Linked DNA regions of Homo sapiens: all the other regions are linked to region 3. Evidence: promoter capture Hi-C in 16 types of primary human blood cells and fetal thymus (Javierre and others, 2016). All regions are on one chromosome and are shown on one strand. The core of a region is centred on a gene start or on the middle of the fragment in contact, and the rest is flanking DNA. Distances in the headings are between cores, read along the strand shown. Region 1 has its middle 43 kb from the start of PRP4K. Region 2 has its middle 25 kb from the start of PRP4K. Region 3 holds the start of TUBB2B (tubulin beta 2B class IIb).

What was found. The method cuts DNA at HindIII sites, captures the fragments that hold promoters and counts their contacts. A CHiCAGO score of 5 or more calls a contact.
Region 1: a fragment that was not itself captured here is called in contact with the fragment with the promoter of TUBB2B in region 3 in 2 of 17 cell types (monocytes and M1 macrophages); the score reaches 5.8 in monocytes.
Region 2: a fragment that was not itself captured here is called in contact with the fragment with the promoter of TUBB2B in region 3 in 2 of 17 cell types (M2 macrophages and activated CD4 T cells); the score reaches 5.4 in M2 macrophages.

What each region holds. Positions count from the first base shown.
Region 1 is chr6:3,976,743-3,979,780 of GRCh38, reverse strand. It overlaps the pseudogene GLRX3P2. Among named protein-coding and RNA genes, the nearest start is that of PRP4K, 43 kb to the left of the region's middle. RefSeq lists a silencer at 1,192-1,486. The HindIII fragment of the contact is 944 bases long and covers 956-1,899 here.
Region 2 is chr6:3,995,123-3,998,152 of GRCh38, reverse strand. No RefSeq gene overlaps it. Among named protein-coding and RNA genes, the nearest start is that of PRP4K, 25 kb to the left of the region's middle. The HindIII fragment of the contact is 643 bases long and covers 1,121-1,763 here.
Region 3 is chr6:3,226,374-3,229,073 of GRCh38, reverse strand. TUBB2B (tubulin beta 2B class IIb) reads left to right here and starts at 1,421. Exons shown (of 4, transcript NM_178012.5): 1 at 1,421-1,587; 2 at 2,405-2,513. The coding sequence starts at 1,531. RefSeq lists a silencer at 1,225-1,514 and enhancers at 1,119-1,777, 1,778-2,438. The HindIII fragment of the contact is 13,618 bases long and covers 1-2,294 here.

The DNA of each region.
Region 1 (3,038 bases), core at 178-2,677, 750 kb before region 3:
TGATTAAACAAATTGTAGTACATTTATACTGTGGAAATACTACTAACAGTAAAAACAGAAAAACAACACACACATAGCTTAGAAGAAATTATGCTGAGTGAAAAAAAGCCAATCTTAAGCATGTTGCGTGATTTCATCTATGCAACATTGATGAAACATCATTTTTGAAATGGAGAACAGATTACTGGTTGTGAGGGATTAGGAATGGGGGAAGAGGGAATAGGTATGTTCATAAAGTGGTAACATGCGGGACTCTTACGGCTATGGTACTGTTGTGTATCTTGATTGTGATGGTGGCTATCCAAGACAACACAAGTGATAAAATTGCAAAAAGTTATGCCAAACACACACGGGCATGTGTAACTTGTGAAATCTGAATGAGCTCTGTAGATTGTACCAATTTCAGTTTTTTTCTAGTAGCTGTATGTTTAATATTGCTGTAAAGATACACTTTTTTATACAGTTATTGTTAATAATTTGAAGATGTTTATTGCATTCTATTTTTAGTGGGAAAACATGTAACATACTTTTATTTAGCACGACATTGTGAAATACAAAAAACATGTAACTGAGTAAGCAGGATTTTTCTATTCCTAGCCCATTTCTGAGGACTAAATCATGAACTGCTCCCAATGTAATTAAGTATTTCTTGCAATAGTTGGGCACCAAGTTTAAGATTTATTAATTTTCTCCTCTCAGTATAGGCAGCAATTCACCATTTTCTTTCAGCTCTTTCACAATATCCAATCCTCCCACCAGCTCCCCTTTCACATACAGCTGAGGGTATGTTGGCCAATTTGAGTAAGCTTTTAATCCTTGCCGATCTCCTTCATCCTCCAATATATCGAATGTTTCATATTCACCACCAGTACTATTTAGTATTTCCAGAATTTGTTTGCTGAATCCACATTTTGCTTCCTGTTTGTTTCCTTTCATAAAGAGCATCATAGAAGCTTCATTTGTCAGCACTTTGAGCCTTTCCTCTAATTTGGGAGCTTTGGGACAAATTATATCTAGTTCTTCAGATGCGTGTATCTCCTTAATTATATCAAGTCCTCCTATGAGCTCTCCAGAAACGTAGAGCTGAGGATAGGTAGGCCAATTGGAATAGGCTTTGAGCCCCTGTCGAACCTCTTGATCTAAAGACATCAAAACTGCTAAACTAAATATTATGTTTGTGAACAATTTCCACCATCTGCTTGCTGAAACCACAGAGTGGTTCTTGAGGAGTTCCTTTCATAAACAGCATGCAGGGGGCAGCATGAGTCAGTTTCTGTAAGCGAAGGTTGAGATCTTCTTTAAGATGTTCGTCAGTGCTGGGTGGGAAGGAGCCACTAGATGCATGTCGCTGAGCTTTTTTGGTCTTTAAGATGTTCATCAGTGCTGGGTGGGAAGGAGCCACTAGATGTCGCTGAGCTTTTTTGGTCAACTCTGGGATGTGTGCACCATCTAATCGGTCAATTTTCTGAGAATTATTGAAAAACAGAAAAGTGGGAACAGAGCCAATTTCATATTTTTCAGATACTTCAGGAACACCTTCAGCTTCCAACTTCACAAATGAAACTTGAGGGTGTTCTTTAGCTAACTCTGCCATAACTTCGTTCATCTGTGCACATTGTGGACCACAAGGAGGGACTTGGCTTTGAGGCGCAGCAGCTCCTCAAACTGGCCGGCTGAGCTGACCTCTTCTACAGCTGCTGCAGCCGCCTTGCTGCCCCTGCCACCGTGCTGCCGCCACCACCAATTTCAATTTTTCATTTTCGATATTATGCTATAGTCGTTCAGGATGTTAACAGTGAGGGAGTCTGGGGGGGCGGTGCATGAGACATCCCAGTACCTTTTTTTGAATTTTGAAATAATATTTCCTGTGAATCTATAATTATTTAAAAATAAAAAGCTTTAAAAATCTTCAAATAAATAAGCAGATACTTTGGAAGATAAAGTCAATAACATATCCCAGAAAGAACAAAAAAGGCAGTGTGGAGGACAGAAGGAGAGAAGGGAAGGGAAAAGATAAGAAAATTAGAGAATCAACTCAGAGGTGCATGATATTAGGAATTCCAGAGAGAACAGAGTAAACAAAGGAGAAGAAACTAAAATAATAAAAATCTACACGAACTTGAGAACATGTGCTTTTGTACAGAAAGGGCTTCCTGAGTGCCCATTGCAGTGATGCAGAAAGGCCCAGCACATCGGAATGACCTTTCAGAACACTGAGAGGCAAGGAGAACATCTGTGCTGGATTGCCTCTTGTCAACCTGATGACACCACCGTTCTTCTGAGGTTGGGAACTATACTTCCCAGAATTCTGTTCCCAAGGTGGCAGGGATGGAGCTGAGCTTAGGCTCGGTGAAAGTCTGATTTGCAAATGGCTCCTGCAGGGTGCCCAGCCTGCCAACAGCAGAGACAAACATTGAGCCCATGATGTGGCACTGTTATTTGGGGGAATCAACAGTTTAAGTAACGTGGACCATTTCCATCTTGCCAGAAGCACTGCTTTGTTCTCACTGGAGATGGATGGATTGCCCTCCCTGTCCACAGTGGTTCCTCCAAAATGGTCATCTCTGGACTTACTTACAGAATACCTAATGTATGATAGTGGCACTCTTCCTAGCTTTGCTTCTGACAAGGAACTGATTTCACAGCAAATGAAGTGCAGCAATGTGCTCACGAAAGCATGATGTTGTGAATGCCTTTATTTGGAATTCACTGGTCTTACCATGTTTGCCATCATCCTGAAGCTTGGCTTGATAGAGTGGCAGAATGGGCTTTTGAAGATTCAGTTATGGTGCCAGTTGATAAAATAACTTTGTGGAGCTGATTTAGTACCCGATGAGATGCAGAACATACTCCGAATCAGTGACTCATTTATGATGTAGTTTCCCCCACAGCAAAGATACGAAGTTTTAAAAATCAAGGAATGCAAATGGGAGTAGTGTCTTTTACTGTACATCTAATGATCTACCAAAGTTTTGGCTTTTTTATCCCCACAACATTAAACTCTGCTAGTTTAGAGGTCTGGGTTTCCAGGGCAGGAA
Region 2 (3,030 bases), core at 193-2,692, 770 kb before region 3:
CTTGAAGTTTCAGGCACACCTCCTTTTCTTTTATTGAAATTCTCAAAGCCAGGTACAGTGGCTCACCTGAGTTTATTCAAGGCTAATCCGTAATTAGGGAAATAAAGGTTACAGCTGCCTGTTAGTGACTCAGGTCGTATAATCACATTCCTTTAAGGCTCAAAATAACGTTCCAATAGCTTTGATTTTGAATTACTTATTTTCACAAGTTCTATAAAATTACAGAGTTCTCATCTATTTTTGTTGGCAGCTGTTTGCCTAGCAGTTGAAAGTGCTTAGCACATGATAGTATATGATAAACATTTGTTTAATTTATTTCAATATTGTCAGTCCATATTCCAGCTTCTTTGGCAAAGGAGACTGTTGTTTTTATATGAATTTATCCAAATTTTAGTTGTTTCCAGCTAAGTTTAGACCAAGAGCCCCCACAGAATTACTTCCATGTCAACTAGTAGAGGAAGAGCTTTAATTTAGGATTTAAATGCCACACCACAATTATCTAAAGTGACTGAATTGAGCTACTGAATAATAGTCCTTCTAAAGAAGATTTTAGACACACATTTCATTTCTGTTATTGCTGACAAGTGTTTTATTTTACAGAATAAAAGGCATCTTGCCTGGGATAAAATTTCGAAAGGCTGTGTTTTTGTAGCACTTTCTTTTTTGGAAGGATCTCTTTTTAGCTACTCTGTGTCATGGTGATGTTGAGTTCTCTGTTGGAAGCTAGAGTTCCTGGGTTTTTTGATGTTTCTAGGCTTTTGGGTTTTGTTTAAGATTTGTGTTTTGGGAAGGAACATTTCCATGGTTACGCCCATTCCTTCTACCATCCTTGAAAAAACGAGCCAGTAGAGTAATCTGATTCCTGGATTACTACTACACAGATGTCTTTTGTATCTGCCTACACATGAAACTGCTAGGCAAGTTCCATTTCCATGCATTTACTTCCTTCAGTGCTTTTTAAAAATGAAGCACTTTTAAGATTAGGAATGAAAGACTTGGATTGGCAAGTTAAACAGGGATTGGCCTACGTTATGTTAATAGTCTAAACTCAATGTAGGATTAATTTAGAGGTACAGTATATGAAGGGAGAGACTGTTTTGGGAACAACTAAATCGAAGCTTTGAGCAGAATTTGCACACATGTGAGTAATACTATATGCAGAAAGACTGCTGTACTTAAAAATAGTTTTCAGGTTTTTAAATATAAAGTTTCATGTTGGAATAGTAAAATAAAACATATGAACTTTTACTGACATGAAGCAGTAAAATTAACTTTTCCTTGGAACAGCTTGCATGCTCATTGCTGCTCCACACAAACCTAGGTTAAAGATGCCCATGATCTAGCAGTTTTCTTCTCTGAACATTGCAGAGCATTTGCACAGACATGCTTGAATTTACACTCATGAGTCCATTTCAAGTAAGAAGAGGGAGTAAGAGAGGGACCTCCTTCTCAGGGTTAAGGAAGGCCTAAATTATGAAAAAGTAGTGCAGCTTTTTTCTTAAGTTAAAGTAACGGTAAATTTACACCACATTTCTCTATGAATCCAGTATATGAAAAGTTTAATTTGCGTGTTAACTATTGCTGTGCAGACAGCTTGTCAAGTGATGATTTTGACAGCCTGGTGTCTGTCTCCATTCTGCTGGAACATCAGACGCCATTTCTCTTCTTCCTGAGAAAACCACCTCTCATACTTTGGTATCCCTCTAAAGTGTTTCAATTGTAAATTACTACTAATATATAATTACTATTCATTTATAGAAGCTTCTAGCTTAAACATAAAAATATACTAAAAGTGAAACAACCGTAATCTTAACCTCTAGACATAGATTATTTTTCTATGAACACATTAACATATATGTCATAGTTACTATTGTTTTTTACAATAAAAGGCTCATACTATACATACATACAACTTGTTCTGGTATATATTTTGAATCTTCATAATAGCATTTGTAGATATGCTTTATTTTTTGTAGTTTTGTTTTTTTCTTTAGCCATCCTTGCAAATACTATGTATTTTGCTTCCTTAAATCAGTATTTCAGTAGGAAAAATTCTTAGAAATTAAACTGTGAGGGCAAGCAATTGTGAACATTTACATTTTAATAAGTACCAACAAATTACCTTAAAACGTGTACCGATGGATACTCTTAGTAAAATGTAAGAGAGTGATTCACTACATTCTTACTAGCTCAGGCATTATCAATTTTTTTTTATTTTAAATTACTGCCTAAGAAATACAGTCATATATCTTGTTCTTTTATTTTAAATTTCTATTTGAGAAGTTATGCACTTTTGTTTGTTTGTTTTTTGAGACAGAGTCTTACTCTGTCATCCAGGCTGGAGTGCAGTGGCACAATCTCAGCTCACTGCAACCTCTACCTCTCAGGTTCAGGTGATTCTCGTGCCTCAGCCTCCCGAGTAGCTGGGATTACAGGCGCCTGCCACCACGCCTGGCTGAGTTTTGTATTTTCAGTAGAGATGGGGTTTCACCGTGTTGGACCAGCTGGTTTGGAATTCCTGACCTCAGGTGATCCCCCCACTCAGCCTCCCAAAGTGCTGGGATTGCAGGCGTGAGCCACCATGCCTAGCCAGTTACACACTTTTTAATGTGATTATTAATCACCATTATTTCTACTTATTCAAGCTGACTGTTCACATATTTTACTCTTTTTAAAGCATGCATTTTAAATAAATTGATAATAAATGTTTTTGTCAAATATTGCACGTCTTCTCCCCTACATTTATTGAATGCTTACTGCATGCTAGGCTCTGTGCTAAATACTTTACATACATTATTCCATTTAATCCTCACATTAATTTTGGGGAATGTGTTATTTTCATGTTCACACAAGGAAAATGGGTTCAGAGAGGTTAAGGAATTTGCCCAAATTTACAGTTAGTTTATTTTTATTTTTATTTTGAGACAGGGTATGTCTCTATCACCCAGGCTGGAGTGCAGTGGCACGATCCCAGCTCAGTGCAAACTCCGCCTCCTAGGTTCAAGCAATTCTAGTGCCTCAGCCTCCTGA
Region 3 (2,700 bases), core at 172-2,671:
TCAAACGCACGCAGGATTAGTCTCTCTCTCTCTCTCTTTCTCTCTCTCTCTCACACACACACACACACACGCGCGCGCGAAAAGTAACAAAGAGACCAGTTCCTGCCTCAGTACCTAGAGACTGCGGATCTGAAGGGAGGGTCTGTGCTCCAAGTCTGTGCACGCGCTCGTGCGAGTGCGCGTGGGTCTTGGGTCGTCTCGCGCGCGCTGGGCTGCAGTTTTTAGTCGTATTCCCCACCCTTCAACCGCAGCACGAAGCCTCGGACCTCCAGGTCGCCGCGATGGAAGATAAGAAAGTTTGTTACTCGGGCTTGGGCCACCCTTGGAACCCACCCTCTTACTTGACAATAGATGAACTGAATCCGAGGGCGGGGTGGGGGGGTGGGGCGCCTGTCGTGTGGTTTTAAATACTGGGTTACACAGCGTATCCCACGTTTCTGAGAGCCCTTTGTTCCGCCGACAGCCCCGCCCCCGGGACCCCACCCTCTTTCTGCCCTCCGGACGGTCAGTGCAGCGCCACCGGCCACTCCCACTCCATCACTAGCGAGCAACAAAAGTCAACCCCCGGGGCAGAGGGCTCCTGGGTACCAGCAGGGGCGTTATGCACTCCCGGAGAGGGTCGGGCAGGGCTGAGGGGCTCCGAGGTCGCTTCACCCCTAGATGCTGCGGCGCAGTGAGAGGAGCTACCAGCCCAAGACAGACAAAGGAGAAAGCAGGCCCACGCTGGGGCGGGGGCGGAGGCCGCGCTGGTGTTCATGGGCCGCAGGTGTCCCGGTTGCCATCAAGCACGACTTCCTTCTGGGGCCACCTGTCCTCCCCCAGGCCTCTGTGAGACGGAGCGCCGCCTGGGCAGTCGCTGGCCTCCAGGGTTGAGGAAAAAGACGGTGGTCTCACCAGGGGCAGTTGGCTGGAGGGACTCTGGCCAGTGGCCGAGTAGGAGCCGCAGTCCGAGGTGGCGGAGCAGCCTGTGCCACCTCAGCCCTCCCACCTGCCGGCACTGGAGCACCTGACGGCTTCTCCACATGCTCCAGTCCTCCATCGTTCCCATCCGGTGCCAGCTCTGCCCCCACCCCGGTCAGGACGCGCTGGTGGCCCTCGCCTCGCCGCCCTCTCACCCTCCTTTTCTTCACTGTTCCCCCATATCCCCATACCCAGACCCCCACCACAGCCCCAGACAATGCGCACGCCCCCACCATACTCCCGGTAGCCCCCACCCCTCTCCCGGTCGGCACGCCCGCTCTGATTGGCCGCGGGCCGGTGGTCCAGCCCCCCGGACGGTCCCTAGGGCTCGGAGCATTACGTCAGCCGGGCCTGGAGAGCGCCAGCGCGAAGGGGACTGGGGGGCTCGGGCTGGGGGCGCGGCCTGTGCCGGCCGCCCCACCCTCCTTGCATAAAAGCCGGAGCCCGCGGGGCCGGCGCTCTCAGCCCGTCGGTTCCCGAGCGCCTTCCCGGTGACCCCGCAGTGGGTGTGTGAGGGGAGGACGGACAGACCCAGACGCCGCCGGACCAGGAGGACGCTGACGAGGCACCATGCGTGAGATCGTGCACATCCAGGCGGGCCAGTGCGGCAACCAGATCGGCGCCAAGGTGGGCGCGCCGCAGCGGAGGGGGTCCAATGGGGGCGCGAACCTGGGCCGAGAGCCCCTCGGGGTCCCCAGGCGCGGTCCTGGGAAGGCCTGGGGATCGCCAAATGCAGACCTTCCTGGCCGCTTTGTGCCGCCGAGTGTGGCCTGGGCTAGGAGGTGACTTTCGCGGACGGAGGGGGCACCTCTCTTTCTTTCTGCTGTAACTCATTTGGAGTCCCCGTCACCCCCTCGGCCTCCCTCCGCGCTGGCTGCTTGGCAGGCACGCGTGCCTGGAGAAGACGAGGGTGTGTCCGCGAGGCTGTGCGCGGCGCTCCGCGCGAGGGGCTGGGACACCAGGAGGATTAATTGTACTCGCTTGAACCGGAGTCGAGCTGCCGGGGGAGGGGAGGAGAGCGATTGTCTTGCGGTCTCAGGACGTGCTTTGAATCTAAAACCGCGGTCCTTTAGCTCCTTTGCGTTCCTCTTTCCCCGCCCACCCGCTCCTGGCGGGCTGCAGTCCCTGTGCCCTCGCCTCCTGCCGCAGCCTGGGGCTGCGACCAGTGCGCCAAGCTCCGCCACTGCCCGGCTTTGGCTGGTCCTTACCCCCTCGACCCCTACCTCCCCCCGCGAGCGGCAGCTGTTTGCCTGGGAAACGCCCAGTTTCAACTTTCTGAACCTGCAAAATACAAGCCCCGCGGCTGTGCCCGGGTCACGACGCCCTTTAAAGCTTCAAGCTCCTGAAATGTTGGGTTGTCGGAACTGAGTCGGGGACATTTCATTGTGAGCCTTGGCGTTTCTGGGGGCATCGTTCATGGCTAAATGCAGCCTTTCTGTCTCAGTTTTGGGAGGTCATCAGTGATGAGCATGGGATTGACCCCACTGGCAGTTACCATGGAGACAGTGATTTGCAGCTGGAGAGAATCAATGTTTACTACAATGAAGCCACTGGTAATCACCCTTGCCCCACCCCCACTCCCTTCAGTTTTTCCACCTTCTCCCCTTTCCCTTGCGTGGGACCCCAGGGGTGTGGCCCTGGGAGAGGGTGGACTATTCAGTTTAGGATCCCCGCTCTTTCCCTGCAGTATTTCATTGGGCTTCCTTATGCCAACAGAGCCCTTTGAGAACCTGATGGTGG